2 separate regions of the Homo sapiens genome follow, and region 1 is linked to region 2. The links are contacts of gene promoters, found by promoter capture Hi-C in blood cells and fetal thymus (Javierre and others, 2016). All regions are on one chromosome and are shown on one strand. Each heading gives the region's core, a stretch centred on a gene start or on the middle of the fragment in contact. The rest is flanking DNA. Distances are from core to core; before and after follow the strand shown. Region 1 holds the start of RAB21 (RAB21, member RAS oncogene family). Region 2 holds the start of PPP1R12A (protein phosphatase 1 regulatory subunit 12A).

What was found. The method cuts DNA at HindIII sites, captures the fragments that hold promoters and counts their contacts. A CHiCAGO score of 5 or more calls a contact.
Region 1: the fragment with the promoter of RAB21 here is called in contact with the fragment with the promoter of PPP1R12A in region 2 in 1 of 17 cell types (naive CD8 T cells); the score reaches 6.8 in naive CD8 T cells.

What each region holds. Positions count from the first base shown.
Region 1 is chr12:71,752,836-71,756,814 of GRCh38, reverse strand. RAB21 (RAB21, member RAS oncogene family) reads right to left here and starts at 1,952. Exons shown (of 7, transcript NM_014999.4): 1 at 1,527-1,952. The coding sequence starts at 1,685. RefSeq lists enhancers at 1,061-1,250, 1,891-2,180 and a silencer at 1,631-1,910. The HindIII fragment of the contact is 5,965 bases long and covers 1-3,683 here.
Region 2 is chr12:79,932,646-79,936,982 of GRCh38, reverse strand. PPP1R12A (protein phosphatase 1 regulatory subunit 12A) reads left to right here and starts at 1,886. Exons shown (of 25, transcript NM_002480.3): 1 at 1,886-2,288. The coding sequence starts at 2,052. It overlaps PPP1R12A-AS1 (PPP1R12A antisense RNA 1), which reads right to left and starts at 1,702. Exons shown (of 2, transcript NR_146535.1): 1 at 1,429-1,702. RefSeq lists enhancers at 1,371-1,936, 1,660-1,954, 2,001-2,300, 1,937-2,500, 2,641-2,700 and 1 more and a silencer at 2,381-2,470. The HindIII fragment of the contact is 9,894 bases long and covers 525-4,337 here.

The DNA of each region.
Region 1 (3,979 bases), core at 703-3,202, 8.2 Mb after region 2:
AGCACAGTAAGAACTCACTAAATGTTAGCTATTGTTACTACTTTACCTAAGTAAATCTCTAAACTTCCAAATGATCCTAGGTATTTGTCCAGTGAATTTTCTTGATCTAAAACACCAGGCTCTCACTAATGACACTGAACAATAACAATTCATTATTAAAATTTTGTCAGTGTTCTGGTACAAGGATTTTTTAAAAATGCAGTTTCCTGGCACTCACTTTTTCAGATATGCTTTACATACGAGTAAAATCAGAGGAGTAAAAATAGAACATGGAATCAGAGCCAGAGCGTCTTGTAAATTCTAGACTCAGTAGTTTAATAATAGCATCAAACATCCAATGTCACAACAATTAGGAGATTACGCATTCTATTAAGTAGTGTCGATGTTCTCACATACTACACATTTACTAATTAAGACCTATTGTGCAAGTTGGGGCGGTAATTAAAGGCAGACAACTTACACTGGACCAGGTCATCAGTGCTTTTTCTGTATATTTATCCTGACAACCCTATGAGCTAGATACTACTATTATGGCCATTTTAACAGAAGAAACAGGCACAGACAGGTTAAGTAACTTACCCAGTATGACACAGCTAGTTAAATGGATGGAGGTGAGACATGAACCTGGACAATCAGGCTCAAAAGTCCACTAGACTTTACTGCCTTTGACCAAATTGGTAAGTCAAATTAGTAGGATAAATTTCTCCTAATAACATCAAAACTGATTTCTCTGGGAGAGGTGGGGTGAGTACAACTCCCTCAAAGGCCTGGCTTCACTCTCAATCAATGATAACATTTTAACACCTTTCCAATGTACCTGTGGAAGAAAGCCGACCTTTTATTTTACAGGTAAAGAAACTGAGTAACAGCAGCGGCTTTTAGTCTGGGGACCAATTGTTGGCCAGTATTCACTTGATGTTTCAGCGTGGGTCAATCGACCTCGCAGAATATGAGTGACCCGCAAGTCAGACCCACGCAGGCTGCAATGAAACTGCGTAACACGCCTAGGCAAGCGGTCATTTCAAAAAACCTCCAGAGATGGCTCTTTTGCCATTCCTGTTACTCAGGACAAAATGGAACTTGCATAAACACTTAGTCATCAGTAAGCGCTGAAGTTACAAATCACCTAATTCGCAAAATCAAATACGCAGCTAAGTTCCTAATTCTGAAAGAAAGAAAAGGAGCTAACATTTGGAGACTGCAACACTGACACCTGGGACCCAGGAACTGCAGTAAATGGGAAAAAACAGCCCACGGACGGAGACCACAACGTGCGCAGCCACCACGGGGAACACTGGGGACTTTTCAGGGCCCTTCCACTTCCCTCCCAACAGCCTGTCCTCGCGTCTACAGGCTGCCCCGACCTGGTGATTCCCCAGGGCGAATTCGGAAAGGTAAACCGAAGGCGGAGATGACAGGCCTGAGATTTGCCAGCCTACATCCAGGGGACCAGGGCGGCAAAGTTTCCCCAGCCCCGGAGGGGTAGGGGCCCTGAGGCGCCCCCTCCCGCTCCCCGAGGTCCGCACCTGCAGAGTGGTGATGTGCTTGTCGTTAAACTTGTTCTCGCAGTAGCGCAGCACCAGCGACGTCTTCCCCACGCAGCCTTCCCCCAGCAGCACCACCTTGAACGAGTAGGCTCGGCCCGCCGCCGCCGCCCCGCCGCCGCCGCCGCCGGCCGCAGCCATCCCGTCGCTTCCCGGCCGCCCGAGCCCGAGTGTCGCGCCGCCCTCCCGACAGCCGCGGCAGCGCCTTCACAGCCACGGCCGGCTCAGCCCCCACCGCCCCGGCCCCGCCGACCCGGGCGCTGTCCCCACGCCCTCCTCGGGCGAGGCCTGGAAGGGCTGAGGGAAAGTCCGAGAATGAAGGGCCCCAGCCCACCACGTCAGGCACCGGAGGAAAAGCGAAGAACGATCCCTCTCTGCCTCCCTCTAATGGCGTCTCCTTCCTCCTACGTCACACCTCGGGTCACGTGAGCGCCGGTGCCGGGGCGGCCCCTGCGACTAGCCCCAGAAGAACGTGCCTGGACGTGGGCGGGGCTTCTGGGGCATCTCCCGGGGTGGAGCTGGATGTGAGTCGAGCGCCTACTGGCAATCTAGGGCAGAGCCCCGCCGCTTGCGAGCCACCTCTGCTTTTCAGTTGGTGGGAGCCAGCGGGAATAAGGAACCAGGAATTTGAGGCGAGCCCAGCTCTGGTGAAATGAAGGGCAGAACTTCATCGTTTTTGCATGTTCACAATGCTAATGATCTGTCACACCAGAGGTCACTGTAAACCATATCTGCCAAGGTGCCCTTGAATCTCTCTCTGTGGGATCCCGAATCATAGCGCTTCCAAGTTCCTCTGACCGCCTGGTCAACTACTCCATCATCTTTCAAGTCTCAGCTTAAACCGCGTCCCTGACCACCCAATCCTTCCCCCATCCTTCCATTCCCCCACCTCACAAAATTAGGTATTTCTTACCACCAGTATACCTCCTTTACTAGGGCTTTACACACTCCATGGATATTATTAATACTTTGCTAAGTGTTTATCGACTCTCATTAGACTATAGGTTTGTTGAGGGCAAGGTCTGTATAAGAGCTGCCCACCTTTGAATTCCTAACCCCAAGTGCTCTTCAGTTTTTCTGACTTTCATGAAGCCTCTGACGTTCCATGGTACTCCACCTTGAGGTGGCTTGTTCGATGATTGCTTGTTTTTTCTCATCTGCATCCCCATTCTTTTTTGTTTGTTTGTATTGTTAGTTTTGAGATGGAGTATCGCTCTGTCGCCCAGACTGGAGTGCAGTGGCGTGATCTCAGCTCACTGCAGTCTCTGCCTCCTGGTTCAAGTGATTCTCCTGCCTCAGCCTCCCGAGAAGCTGGGACCATAGGCGCCCACCACCGCGCCCCGCTACTTTTTGTATTTTTAGTGGAGACAGGGTTTCACCATGTTGGCCAGGCTGGTCTTGAACTCTGACCTCAAGTGATCCACCTGCCTCGGCCTCCCAAAGTGCTGGGATTATAGGTGTGAGCCACCACGCCCGGCCTGCCTCCAAGAAACCATACTCCTCCAAGAAATCATACTAATATTTCTGAAAATTTACTGGAAACCTGGTGTCAGGTAAACATTTTTTTAAAAATCAAACTTCTTTCACACTTCAAACCAGGTTAAAAAAAAAAAAAGAGGCCGGGCGTGGTGGCTCATGCCTGTAATCCCAGCACTTTGGGAGGCCGAGGCGGGCGGATCACAAGGTCAGGAGATCGAGACCATCCTGGCCAACATGGTGAAACCCCATCTCTACTAAAATACAAAAAATTAGCTGGGCATGGTGGCACAAGCCTATAATCCCAGCTACTCGGGAGACTGAGGCAGGGGAAGCGCTTGAACCCGGGAGGCAGAGGTGGCAGTGAGCCGAGATCGCGCCACTGCACTCTAGCCTGGCGACAGAGGAAGACTCCGTCTCAAAAAAAAAAAAAAAAAAAAAGAGAGTCGGTTAATTCATTCAACAAATATTTAAATGTGCCCACCATATGCCAGGCACTGTGATCAACAAGATAAAATGTCTCTGTCCTCACAGAGCTTACATTTTATCAGGGAAGACAGACATACTCAATTGTACAATAAATGCTTTCATCTTGATGAAACAGTTCAGAGTATCTTGCAAGCATATATGAGAACCCAACTGATTTAGCATGCTAGAGAAGCTTTCCCTGGAGAAAGTTATCTTTGGGTAAGAGTAACCTAGTCAGGAAGGACAGGAGAGCTCTGCAAACAGAGATAACAGCATGTTCAATGGCTTTAGATAGGAAGGAGCATCTAAAGTTGAGCAACTGTAAATGTGACTAGAATTTAGGGAGGAAAAAAAAACTCCAGAAGAGACCATGAGGAAGTTGGGGATCAATACTGAAAGGGTCTTTAAGCAAATGAAGGATTTTCGTAAGATGACTGACATAATCAGATTTGACCACTCTGGCTATCATTTGAAAAGTGAATTGGAGAAGG
Region 2 (4,337 bases), core at 637-3,136:
CCCACTAAATTCCTTTTGCCTGAATGAAATCTTCAGATTCCCATCTATACTGCAAGGGCACTTTAAGAGCTACCACATAGGCCATAACGTTCTTGGAAAACAGGATATGCTGTCAGTTGCCTAGGTAGAGACAGGAGCTGACAAGGCAATCCTCAAGTTCCTTTCTTTTATTCTGAGAGCTGTATTCTGTGGATAGGGATTTTGTATTTTAGTGCTAACAATGTTTTTCAGTACCTAACACCATGAGTATTCAAAGGTCTGATGTTATCTTTAATGTATGTAATGAACATACAATGGTATATCTTATGAATATTACATTCATTTTCTATTCCTACAACGTTTTCAGAGGAAATATTTTTACCCTGACCTGGATTCTATCGCTATCCTAATAACTGTGGTTCAGAAAATTGTCTCACAGGCAGACAGTTTCCTAATCACGTTTTACTCAATTATTTTATTTCTCAATATGATAGGCTGTGAAGTAGTCCACTGGAAAAGGCATCATGCTGAGAGTAAGAAAAGCTTATTTGTTCACTGCTCTATCTCCAGCACCTAGAACAATGCCTGACCCAGAACAGGTGCATAGTATTTGCTGAGTGAATTCTAATCCTACTTCTGGGTAAAATTAAGTAAATTAATTAGTTCTTGAGGGACTCTGTCTAGATGACCCCTAAACTTCCATGGTAAGGTTTTGTGGTTTTTATCTTGGCTTTTCTAAATGCTCTAAAAATAGTAGTGGATGGTAACAATGCAGTGTTCAGTAAAATCAATTGGTGGAGATTGTAGATAGATGGCTCATAAGACATCAGTATTACAAATCCTATGTGTGTGCGCGTGTGGTCATACAAGGCAAAGTTAAAGTCTTTTTTTTATGACGATGATAAATTAGTCTTGTTTGGGCGACTGAACTCAAGAGGTGGTTCAAATAAATGTCATATTTTTCATTGTATCTTCAGTGCCTAGTACAGTTACTGGCTCATAGTAGGTATTCAATAAATAGTGGTTGAATTAATTGCCTTCCTTAACGTTCCGTTTAAATGCTAGACGCAGCTAGGTCTTTACCCCTCCTTAGAAAGAGATGGAGCTGTAACCAGAAATCCCTTAAAAGGTAAGGACCAGTAATCAGGCTGAGCTAAGCTCATGGGTAGTACGAGACAGGCTTAAAGCACTGAAGGAAGAAAGAAGAGAACCCAAGCGTGAGAGAAAGCAAAACAAAACAAGTAAAGAGAGGAAGAAAAACATTTCTAAAGTGGGGGTTGGCAGGAAGCCACAGCAATTACAGCAGGTCAACCCTTGTCAATAGGTGGTCACCTCAAGAACTTACCATTAAAACCCTCGGCCACACAGACCCCACTTTTAAAAGGTTATTAATTCTGACATGCCCAAGTTCATCTGAGTTCCTTAGAAAGATCAACCAGCAGCACCTACTTCACGACCTATCCTCCATTCCATTCAAATAACGCGGCCAATAGGAAAATCCTCCGCCCTGAGCCAACGACTCGGCGTAGCTGAGACAGCACGGGAGGCAGATCTGCCCTGTAGAGCCTTGCGGTTCCACTGCTGGCCTCCGGATTCCCGGGAGCCCCCAGCCCGACAGGACAACCTTCCTTCCCCGCTTCCTCCTTTCCAGGTCTGTCCCAGCCCCCGCTGCCTGGGCCACACCCGCTTCCCTCTGGTGGCCCAGCCACCACCGCCGCAGTTCGCGGGAGCGCTCTTCCTGGGGCGGGCACAGGCCCAGGGCGCATGCGCACTGGTCGAAGGGCGCCTCCCAGTCCGGATCTCGCGAAGTTACGTTAGATTGGCCGCCGGTGACGGGTGGCCGTGCTGGGGGCGGGAGGGCTTCTGTGGTAGGAAGGGAGGTCCGCTCGGCCGGGTGCGCCGCCCCAGTGCTCTGTGGGATACTGGAAGTCTCGAGCGTCGGCTCCGGGTTCCCAGCCCTCCTCTGGCCCGCACTCATAGAAACATTCACACACCCCCTGCCTCCCCTCTCTTCCCTCTCCGCCTCCCCCTTCCCCCCCTCGCGATAAGAAGACCCGGCGGCAGGAGAGGGGATGAAGATGGCGGACGCGAAGCAGAAGCGGAACGAGCAGCTGAAACGCTGGATCGGCTCCGAGACGGACCTCGAGCCTCCGGTGGTGAAGCGCCAGAAGACCAAGGTGAAGTTCGACGATGGCGCCGTCTTCCTGGCTGCTTGCTCCAGCGGCGACACGGACGAGGTCCTCAAGCTGCTGCACCGCGGCGCCGACATCAATTACGCCAATGTGGACGGACTCACTGCCCTGCACCAGGTCTGTGCGCCCCGCCGCCGGCTCTCCTGACCGTGAGGGTTCTCGTCGGCCTCCTGCTCGGGCCTGCCCTCAGTTCTCCACCTCTTGAGGCTGGGGGCGGCGGGAGACTCCCTGCTGCGGGGTGAGGGGGCGGTTTCCCCAGAGGGCGGGAGGGAGAGCTGGTGGAAGGGAGGGCGCTGGGCTTGAGGCCCCCCTTCAGAACAGTTGCTGGTGGAGTTGGGAACCGGGTGATTTCCGGGGCATAGGGGAAAAGGAACTGTGGTCGTTTGGGGCCCCAGGGCCATTCGTGGATAAGTCTGGGATTTGGGGTCGAGACAAGGAGGGGTGTAGTGGGGTTGTGCCTGGGCCCCGGTGTCAGTGGTATATTCGGAGGGGTGGATGCTGAAGGAAGAAAACTAACAAGGGGCATTACGGACGGTTAGGCAGATGAACATCTTTGACTTGTAGGTGGGCATTGGATTTGTTGCACTTTTTAGGACTTGATTACAAATGATGATAATAATAGTAATCTAGAGCCCTAAGCCGAGTGCCCTGAACGAACGATTTCCTGTTTTCTCATTTATTACTCTTGGTCACTGGGGAGGGGAAAACAGGGTGTAATTAGCTGATCTGCACCGGCTGAAAGGAAGGGGATGGAAGTGGGTAGAGTAAGGAAGCCCTCTAAAGGGCTTGCCCACCTCCGGACCGGAACGTGTTGAGTCTGATACTCGAAGTTTGCCGCAGTGTCAGAGATCCTTGAGCCCCAGGTCCTCGGGTGTGCACTGGTGTTAGAAAGAGAAGAATAAATAGGGGACACTCTTTTCAAAGCCGGTTACCAAGCTCTGGTTTTTCTTTTGGGGTTGGGAAAAAAGAAAGCTGGTCACAAACTTTTCTCAAAATGGATGCTTTGTGCATATTAAAGTTTTATAGTAGTCTGATTGGGATCTCTCAATGTTAGCCAAATAAGGAGAAACTATTGGCAATCCAGAGATAATGTTGCCTTGCCTTTAACAGGCCAAAAGCAACACAACCACGTAGAGTTATGCATAAAAAGCAATTTTTAAGTGACGGTAATAGGTGACAAAACATAGGCTTTTTCTATTTTCTTAGCGGGCAACTTGGAATAACTGTAATAGAAAATGACTTTGCAGCGATAGCTTCCCCTTAACAATGAAAAGACTTGTAAGCTATCTCAAAGTTGCCTTGGTTGTGTGTGGAAGATGCATAGCCTTATTTTGAATAATGTTGTAGTAAAAACTTGTTTGGGAGGTTGAAACTCAAGGCTTTATATTTCATGAATATTAACTTGATGCCTTTTAAAAAAAAGGTGTGTAGTGACATTTTTCCTTGTCCTGCTTACTGTTTAAGGGAGTGATGACCATTTTAAATTTTGTGTAATGGAATTCTCTTATCAGACTTGGAGTATAGCCTTTGTTTACAAAGTTGACTGGATATATTGAAATGATTGACACATTGCAGGACAAATATGGAATTAAAAATGTGGCACCCAGTAAAAATATAGCAGGGTGTCTAGCGCTTTCTCAATTTCATTAATTTAGATTCTCTAATGCATAGCAAACTTTTTATTTGGGTGAAGTTTATTTAAGGCATATCATAACTCGTAAAATTTTAAAACCATGGTGTTGAGAATGAAGGAAACTTTTGGCATTAAAAATGATAATGTAATTATATAAGATGAATCTTCAAATTTCTTTCAAGTGTACTTTACACGTTTTAGTGTGAAACAGATTTTGAAAGACGATTATTACTGTAGGAGGTCAGGATAATTGGATAATGGTTCGCATCAATATGTTTTATTCAAATTGTCAAATAGAAATTTAAAGTTACTATTGTTGTGGAGGAACCCAGTTGTATTGGCTTAGAGGAAGACGAAAAGTTTTGATATTTACATTATTGTGATACTGGTTTAGGGAGGAAGAGAAAATACATTTAACTGCCTTCTTAAGATCTTTTTTTCTCCTCTCAATATTCACACGTTACAAGAATTGTCAGACTTACCAATGTCTTCCTGATTAACTGAATTCAGTGGTCAGTTTGGTGTTGTGTAGA